Regions from separate parts of the Homo sapiens genome. Here region 1 is linked to region 2. The links are contacts of gene promoters, found by promoter capture Hi-C in blood cells and fetal thymus (Javierre and others, 2016). All regions are on one chromosome and are shown on one strand. The core of a region is centred on a gene start or on the middle of the fragment in contact, and the rest is flanking DNA. Distances in the headings are between cores, read along the strand shown. Region 1 overlaps SLC27A3 (solute carrier family 27 member 3). Region 2 holds the start of ILF2 (interleukin enhancer binding factor 2).

Region 1 (3,771 bases), core at 491-2,990, 110 kb after region 2:
GGCAGAACGTGGCCATAAGGTCCGGCTGGCAGTGGGCAGCGGGCTGCGCCCAGATACCTGGGAGCGTTTTGTGCGGCGCTTCGGGCCCCTGCAGGTGCTGGAGACATATGGACTGACAGAGGGCAACGTGGCCACCATCAACTACACAGGACAGCGGGGCGCTGTGGGGCGTGCTTCCTGGCTTTACAAGGTGAGGGGCAGAGAGGAAACTGAAAACCCGTGGAACAGCAGAGGGCTGGCAGGAGAGGGGGCTCATGTGACTGCAATGATCCAGTACCCAGGTCTCCCTTTCCCCAGCATATCTTCCCCTTCTCCTTGATTCGCTATGATGTCACCACAGGAGAGCCAATTCGGGACCCCCAGGGGCACTGTATGGCCACATCTCCAGGTTGGTGGTGTTCTGGTGGGGTGGGCGGGGTGCTGAAGCTGGCACAGGAGGACTGGAATTGGAGACTGGGGTGGATGGGGGCAGAAGGCTCTGGGAAAGGTGACACCACTCCTGACCCTGGTGACTCTGCCAGGTGAGCCAGGGCTGCTGGTGGCCCCGGTAAGCCAGCAGTCCCCATTCCTGGGCTATGCTGGCGGGCCAGAGCTGGCCCAGGGGAAGTTGCTAAAGGATGTCTTCCGGCCTGGGGATGTTTTCTTCAACACTGGGGACCTGCTGGTCTGCGATGACCAAGGTTTTCTCCGCTTCCATGATCGTACTGGAGACACCTTCAGGTATCTGTCCATAACTGGTTTTTCATCCTGGACATCTGATCTCTGTGATCCAAAGCTTCTGAACCTCAACTCTCTAATCTGCCACCTCAACCTGGGTCCTAAGCTAATCTCTCATTCTCAGATCTCACCATTTCATCCCTGTGACACTGACCTCTGACCTCATCTCCCCACCAAGCCCATAAGGCCCTGACCCCTGACTCCCAGTTTCAGATCTCTGCTCTCTGACAGGTGGAAGGGGGAGAATGTGGCCACAACCGAGGTGGCAGAGGTCTTCGAGGCCCTAGATTTTCTTCAGGAGGTGAACGTCTATGGAGTCACTGTGCCAGGTGCCTAGGCATGGAAGGTGGGGGAGGCACCCAGCCACCACCCCGAATTGGTAGTACTTGGGCGCAGGGAGCACGAGGCCTTCGTGGTGGTCAGCCATGGAGGGGCTTACTCTGTCTCCCACACCCACCAGGGCATGAAGGCAGGGCTGGAATGGCAGCCCTAGTTCTGCGTCCCCCCCACGCTTTGGACCTTATGCAGCTCTACACCCACGTGTCTGAGAACTTGCCACCTTATGCCCGGCCCCGATTCCTCAGGCTCCAGGTAACCGGCCACTTCCCCCGCCGGCCCCTCACCCCATATATCCTCACCCCACATATCCACCCCGTGTATCAACTTAGGAGTTTGATGGCTCCCAAACTCCACAAAGGGACCCCCAACGTAATACACTCCGTGAAGAGAAAAAACACGGAGACACAAGCTCTTCACCCCACTTCTTTCCTTATCCCTGCCTTCTTCTGGCCTGGCTCTTTCTCCTCCCTGTCACCTCCTCCCCTAAACCTTGACCTCACACTCCCTTTCCCAAGACTTGCTCCTTAACAAAATTCAGGCAACTCCCCTGAACCACGTGGGCAGAGTCCCCTTCCCTCCAAATCCCTGACCCTCCTGTCCCCAGGAGTCTTTGGCCACCACAGAGACCTTCAAACAGCAGAAAGTTCGGATGGCAAATGAGGGCTTCGACCCCAGCACCCTGTCTGACCCACTGTACGTTCTGGACCAGGCTGTAGGTGCCTACCTGCCCCTCACAACTGCCCGGTACAGCGCCCTCCTGGCAGGAAACCTTCGAATCTGAGAACTTCCACACCTGAGGCACCTGAGAGAGGAACTCTGTGGGGTGGGGGCCGTTGCAGGTGTACTGGGCTGTCAGGGATCTTTTCTATACCAGAACTGCGGTCACTATTTTGTAATAAATGTGGCTGGAGCTGATCCAGCTGTCTCTGACCTACAGTATCTGTCATTATCTCTCTGTGGAACTGCTTTTTCCTTGAGAGTTTTCTCCTGGCGTGGAGCCACAGGCCCCACATTCCTGCCCTGACTGGCTGTGGGCCAGAGCCCCGTATCTGGACCTTGGTGTTTTCCTCTCAGGAGACCCTGTGTGACCTTCGTCCTTGGAGAACCTCTGGTGACTGATGTTTGTCTGTGCTCCTGTGTAGCTCGCCCCAGTTTTACTCTCCGAGTGCCAGGCTCCCACTGCTCTGTCTTGGGAACTGGAGGACCCGAGGGGTCGGCTCAAAGGGCAGAGGTGGACAGAAGCACACAGAAATGCCACCTCCGGCAGCCAGCCCAAACTGCTCCCCCAGAATCAGGTGTGGCCGGGCCTGGGGAAGAGTCTTAACCAGCCCAAACAAGTGTTTGACTGTGGGGGAAAGGATGCTCAAGATATCCCTCTGCCTCGCAGCTGTCTCTGAGAAGCCAATCTTTGAGGGGGAAGAGTGGGGTGCCCCTGCCTCCAGATGTTCCTACTCCTACCTGGTGACTGTCAGACATTCCCAGAAGGAGCAGTCCCCAGGGGGGACCCTCCGGTACTGCAGGAGAGTTTGACGGAAGCCCCTCCATGGAGTGAGGCTCAGAGTGCATGTGGTGGCAGGAGGGATGGTGGGAATCAAAAGGACAAAGGCCTCTCGATCCCCAAATGAGGTGTCCAGAAAGTTCATCATCTAAAAGCTTGAAATGATGAAGCTCCTGCTTCTCCTAGGAACTACAGTCCCCCTCTGTTTTGAGCTGTGGGTCCTTGAAATTTTATGCTACTTTGCCTTTCCCCTTCTAGCCCCTCTCCCCAACATGAGAGGTCAGGGGACATGCCCTACTGGCACACTTGGGTCTCTATTGCGGGCCCTCCTGTTCCAAAACTTTACAACTTGCCCCCTTCCACCAGCAAGCCCGGTGCAGCCTCACTGACAGACTAGGTAAGGCACACGCTAAGGTGCAGGGGAAAACTTCATGCGTAGACCAATAAATGTGGAACTTAACTCATTCTGTGCACCTCTCCAATCTGCCCCAGGAGGAGTACAATAGTTTGGGTGTGCCTGGGGGTAGGGCGGGTAGGCAGCCTGTGTTGGCTGGCAGTGGGGCACCTCCTGCAGCTGCTCTCCCACACCTTAACTCAGCCCAGATTTCCCAGACCTGCGAGCTGAGTGGCCACCTCCCCCATCGTAGAACCTCACACCAAGCTTTTTTTTTTTCTGGAGACGGAGTCTCGCCCTGTAGCCCAGGCTGGAGTGCAATGGTGCAATCTCGGCTCACTGCAACCTCTACCTCCCAGGTTCAAGCAATTCTCCTGCCTCAGCCTCCCGAGTAGCTGGGATTGCAGGCACACGCCACCACATCCGGCTAATTTTTTTTTCTATCTTTAGTAGAGACCGGGTTTCACCATGTTGGCCAGGCTGGTCTCGAACTCCTGACCTCGTGATCTGCCCGCCTCAGCCTCTCAAAGTACTGGGATTACAGGTGCCCGGCCTATTTTTGCTTTTTAAAGTGTAGCTACTAGAATATTTAGAATTACATGTGGCTCAGGTTATATTTCTTTTTTTTTTTTTTTTTTTTTTTTTTTTGGAGATGGAGTCTCGCTGTGTCGCCCAGGCTGGAGTGCAGTGGTGCGATCTCTGCTCACTGCAAGCTCCACCTCCCGGGTTCACGCCATTCTCCTGCCTCAGCCTCCTGAGTAGCTGGGACTACAGGCGCCCGCCACAACGCCCGGCTAATTTTTTGTATTTTTAGTATAGACGG
Region 2 (3,739 bases), core at 1,148-3,647:
GATAATATACAGGAGAGATTGTTTTTTCTATTACTACGACAGAAAAAGGTTAAAAACAGAAAATTCTACACTTGTTTTTACTGCTTAATTTGTTCAATTAGCTGGGCGTGGTGGCTCACACCTGTAATCCCAGCTACTTGGGAGGCTGAGGTGATAGCTGGGCGTGGTGGCTCACACCTGTAATCCCAGCTACTTGGGAGGCTGAGGTGAGAGAATCCCTTGAACACAGGAAGCGAGGTTGCAGTGAGCCAAGATCGCGCCATTGCAACTCCAGCCTGGGCAACAGAGTGAGACCCTGCCTCAAAAAAAAAAATTTATTCAAAGGCCAGGCACAGTGGGTCACGCACACCTGTAATCCCAGCACCGTGGGAGGCTGAGGTGGGCAGATCACTTGAGGTCAGGAGTTCAAGATCAGCCTGGGCAACATGGTGAAACCCCGTCTCTACTAAACAGACATACAAAAATTAGCTGGGCATGGTGGCAGGTGCCTGTAATCCCAACTACTCAGGAGGCTGAGGCAGGAGAATCGTTTGAACCCTGGAGGCAGAGGTCCTGATTCCTCTGCCTCCCAGGTTCAGTGCAGTGAGCCAAGATTGCACCACTGCACTCCAGCCTGGGTGACAGAGTGAGACTGTCTCAAAAAAAATAAAAAGTTCAAACAAGGATAAAAGCTGGAATAGCCATAATTTAAGCTATCACTATCTTTATAGTAACAGATATACCATAAATACAATTACTTGTTCAGAACAAAGATTATAATCATGTTTAATGCCAACAGTAGCCAAGGAATTATTCTCCCCACCATGCTTACACTGTTTCTGTATGTAAAGCAACACACAGTTGACTCAAAACCCCAAATCTTTTCACAAATCACTTTCCCTCCCTATTTCAACCATCTTTTTTTTTTTGTAGTGGTGCCATCTTGGTTCACTGCAACCTCCGCGTCCCGGGTTCAAGCAATTCTCCTGCTTCAGCCTCCCAAGTAGCTGGGATTAGACACATGCCCAGCCAACTTTTTTATTTTTAGTAGAGACGGGGTTTCACCATATTGGCCAGGCTAGTCTCAAACTCCTGACCTTCAGGTAATCCATCTGCCTCGGCCTCCCAAAGTGCTGAGATTACAGGCGTGAGGCACTGTGTCTGCCCTCTTCAACCACCATCTAACTTCATTAACTGGGAGATACTGGGCTCCATTTCAACAGTGACCAGAAAATGTGTATCATTAACCCAAGGTACTCACCAAATAGAAGTCAAATGGGATATGTGGTACAAAGGGCCTGAACCTAAAACATGAAAAACAGCCAAATTATTCCCTAGGTAGGAATCAAGCGAGATGTAAATAACACGCCAACAATTTTGAAAACATGTCAGTCCTCAGAATGAGTGACAAAGTCTCCGGGGAGGGAAAGAATCATTCTTAGCATAGTGGGGCCAAATTCATTTAACAGGAGTGCAGGAAAAGACCACAGTTGGCTCTCGCAAAACCAAGTGACATTAGTCTACTCTAAAACTCCTATTTAGATGACAAGCAGAAACTAACAACCAAGTGCAGAGATGCTAAAAGCTGGTACTCACCCTCCTCCTGGGCCTCCTCTGGAACCAAAGCGCCCACCACGACCACGGCCTCTGTCACCCCTAGAAATGCAGATTTTATTTTGACCTCATTGAAGGAATACCCACCGGCCATATCATCTTAGGTTGGCTACTTTCATCCCTCGGAACCTCCCAACGGTAGGCAAGAGACCCCACTCACACTTACACTTGTCCCCATTCCAAATGGTGCCCAGTTACACCCCCATAACCTCCTCTAAGTTAATCCAACCCCCATCAAGTAATGATGGGGCTCAGTGAGCCCTACACTTAATAACCCATAATCCTGGGCCACACGAATCCTAATACTTCGGAGGCTAAAGATTGCTCATTTCTTCACTAAGGTACACATTTATCGGGCGTGTCCTAATGTCAAGGCCTTCGCACTGAGGATGAATGCGGCTCGCTCCAGCATTCTCAGCCCGGATGACGGGGGCGGGGGAAAGGTGGGGAGCTCCTCCAGGGGCTTGAGGACACCCCCTCATCGCAACCCTTCAGAGACAAAGGTGTCGAACCCCCCTCCCCACTCCTGGGCCCGAACCCCATCCCGGGCCCAAGTTTCCCCGCCTCTACCGGCCTCCATCTCTCCCACTATCCTAGACCAGGAGTTCTCAGGTTTTTGGCCAGCCCCCGGATACATGGCCCTTTCTGATACTCCGACTTCTTTCGGCCCACGTTCACAAAGTTTTCCGTCGAATACCTGAAACCTTTCGACCGCTTCGACCCACTTACCTCATGGCGCCTTAAAACACGAACAATGGAGGCCGCACCAACCGCCCCTTCCTCTGAGTAGCAGACAACTGAAGAGGCGTCTTGCCGGCGTGTCCCAATAAAACCCGGTGCGATTGGCTCCCGCCTTACCCCATCGCTTATGCCTATTGGCTTACTTTGTCAAACCGGGCTTATGAACCAATAAAAAACGCCTACTGTGTCAGGAACTAGCCAATAAGAACTGGTTCTATAGTAATGACGAATTTTTGATCAGACATTAGGTGGCACTAAAGAAGTCAGGACAACGACTACGTAGTGTTCTATAACAATCATGAGAAATTTTAGTTCTAGATAGCAGAGTGGCGCAGCGGAAGCGTGCTGGGCCCATAACCCAGAGGTCGATGGATCGAAACCATCCTCTGCTATCGGAGTTTTTTCATTGCCCTGTACGGCATACGTAATCTACGTTTCTTTAGTGAAGGAAAATATCTTGCCAATTTTCCTACCTCAAAAATGCAACCAATATCAGCTATTTTTGCCACTAGCAGTTGAAGTTGATGGGGAAAAGGGAGTTTAGGCAACTATGAACACTGCACGTCTACAAACTCGAAGCAGGAGAAACAGGTTTTAGATAGGAGAGGAGTATATTGATTGAATTAGTGTGGAAAACATGGTTTTCCATGTCCATGGAAACAGGTGATCCACCCGCCTCAGCTTCCGAAAGTGCTGGGATTACCGGCGTGAGCCACAGCGCCCAGCTTGGTTACATAAATTCTTTAGTGGTGATTTGTGAGATTTTGGTGCACTCATCACCCGAGCAGTATACACTGAACCCAACTTGTAGACTTTTATCCCTCACCTACCTCCCTTCCATAAGTACTTTTTCGATATTTAATTTACTACAGCAGAACGTAAACATCTTAAGTCTAAACGTATTCTGGCCACGTAACCACCATCCAGATTAAAATAAATATTATTAATTTTTAAAAAACAAGCAAACAAAAAGCGGACCGAGTGCGGTGGCTTGTGGCCACCCAGCACTGTGGGAGGCCGAGACGGGTGGATCACCCGAGGTCAGGAGTTCGAGATCAGCCTGGCCAACATGGTGAAACTCCGTCTCTACTAAAAATACAAAAATTAGCCGGCGTGCTGGCGGGCGCCTGTAATTCCAGTTACTCAGGAGGCTGAGGCAGGAGAATCTCTTGAATCCGGGAGGCGGAGGTTGCAGTGAGCTGAGATGGCGCCACTGCACCCCAGCCTGGGCGATAGAGGGAGACTCCGTTTAAAAAAAAAAAAATCTTACTTGAGGTTTGTTGAGCTTCTTGAATCAATGGCTTCAGGTTTGTCGTCCATTTATTAAATTTATCAGCTATTATCTCTTCAAGTATTAGTTTTACCTATTATTTCCCTCGTTCCTGAACTCCAAATAAAGACGGGT

The links. Contacts are between HindIII fragments. The CHiCAGO score rates a contact against its expected background, and 5 or more counts as called.
Region 1: a contact is called between a fragment that was not itself captured here and the fragment with the promoter of ILF2 in region 2, in 10 of 17 cell types (endothelial precursors, M0 macrophages, M2 macrophages and 7 more). The highest score is 9.8, in endothelial precursors.

What each region holds. Positions count from the first base shown.
Region 1 is chr1:153,778,166-153,781,936 of GRCh38, forward strand. It overlaps SLC27A3 (solute carrier family 27 member 3), which reads left to right. Exons shown (of 10, transcript NM_024330.4): 5 at 1-190; 6 at 298-388; 7 at 522-720; 8 at 949-1,046; 9 at 1,178-1,308; 10 at 1,661-1,992. The coding sequence ends at 1,837. Among named protein-coding and RNA genes, the nearest start is that of SLC27A3, 4.6 kb to the left of the region's middle. The HindIII fragment of the contact is 1,934 bases long and covers 774-2,707 here.
Region 2 is chr1:153,668,596-153,672,334 of GRCh38, forward strand. It overlaps ILF2 (interleukin enhancer binding factor 2), which reads right to left and starts at 2,398. Exons shown (of 14, transcript NM_004515.4): 1 at 2,323-2,398; 2 at 1,576-1,635; 3 at 1,241-1,283. The coding sequence starts at 2,327. TRX-CAT1-1 (tRNA-iMet (anticodon CAT) 1-1) reads left to right here and starts at 2,655; the gene lies at 2,655-2,726. RefSeq lists a silencer at 2,418-2,797 and enhancers at 2,838-2,977, 3,528-3,607, 3,618-3,667. The HindIII fragment of the contact is 12,664 bases long and covers 1-3,739 here.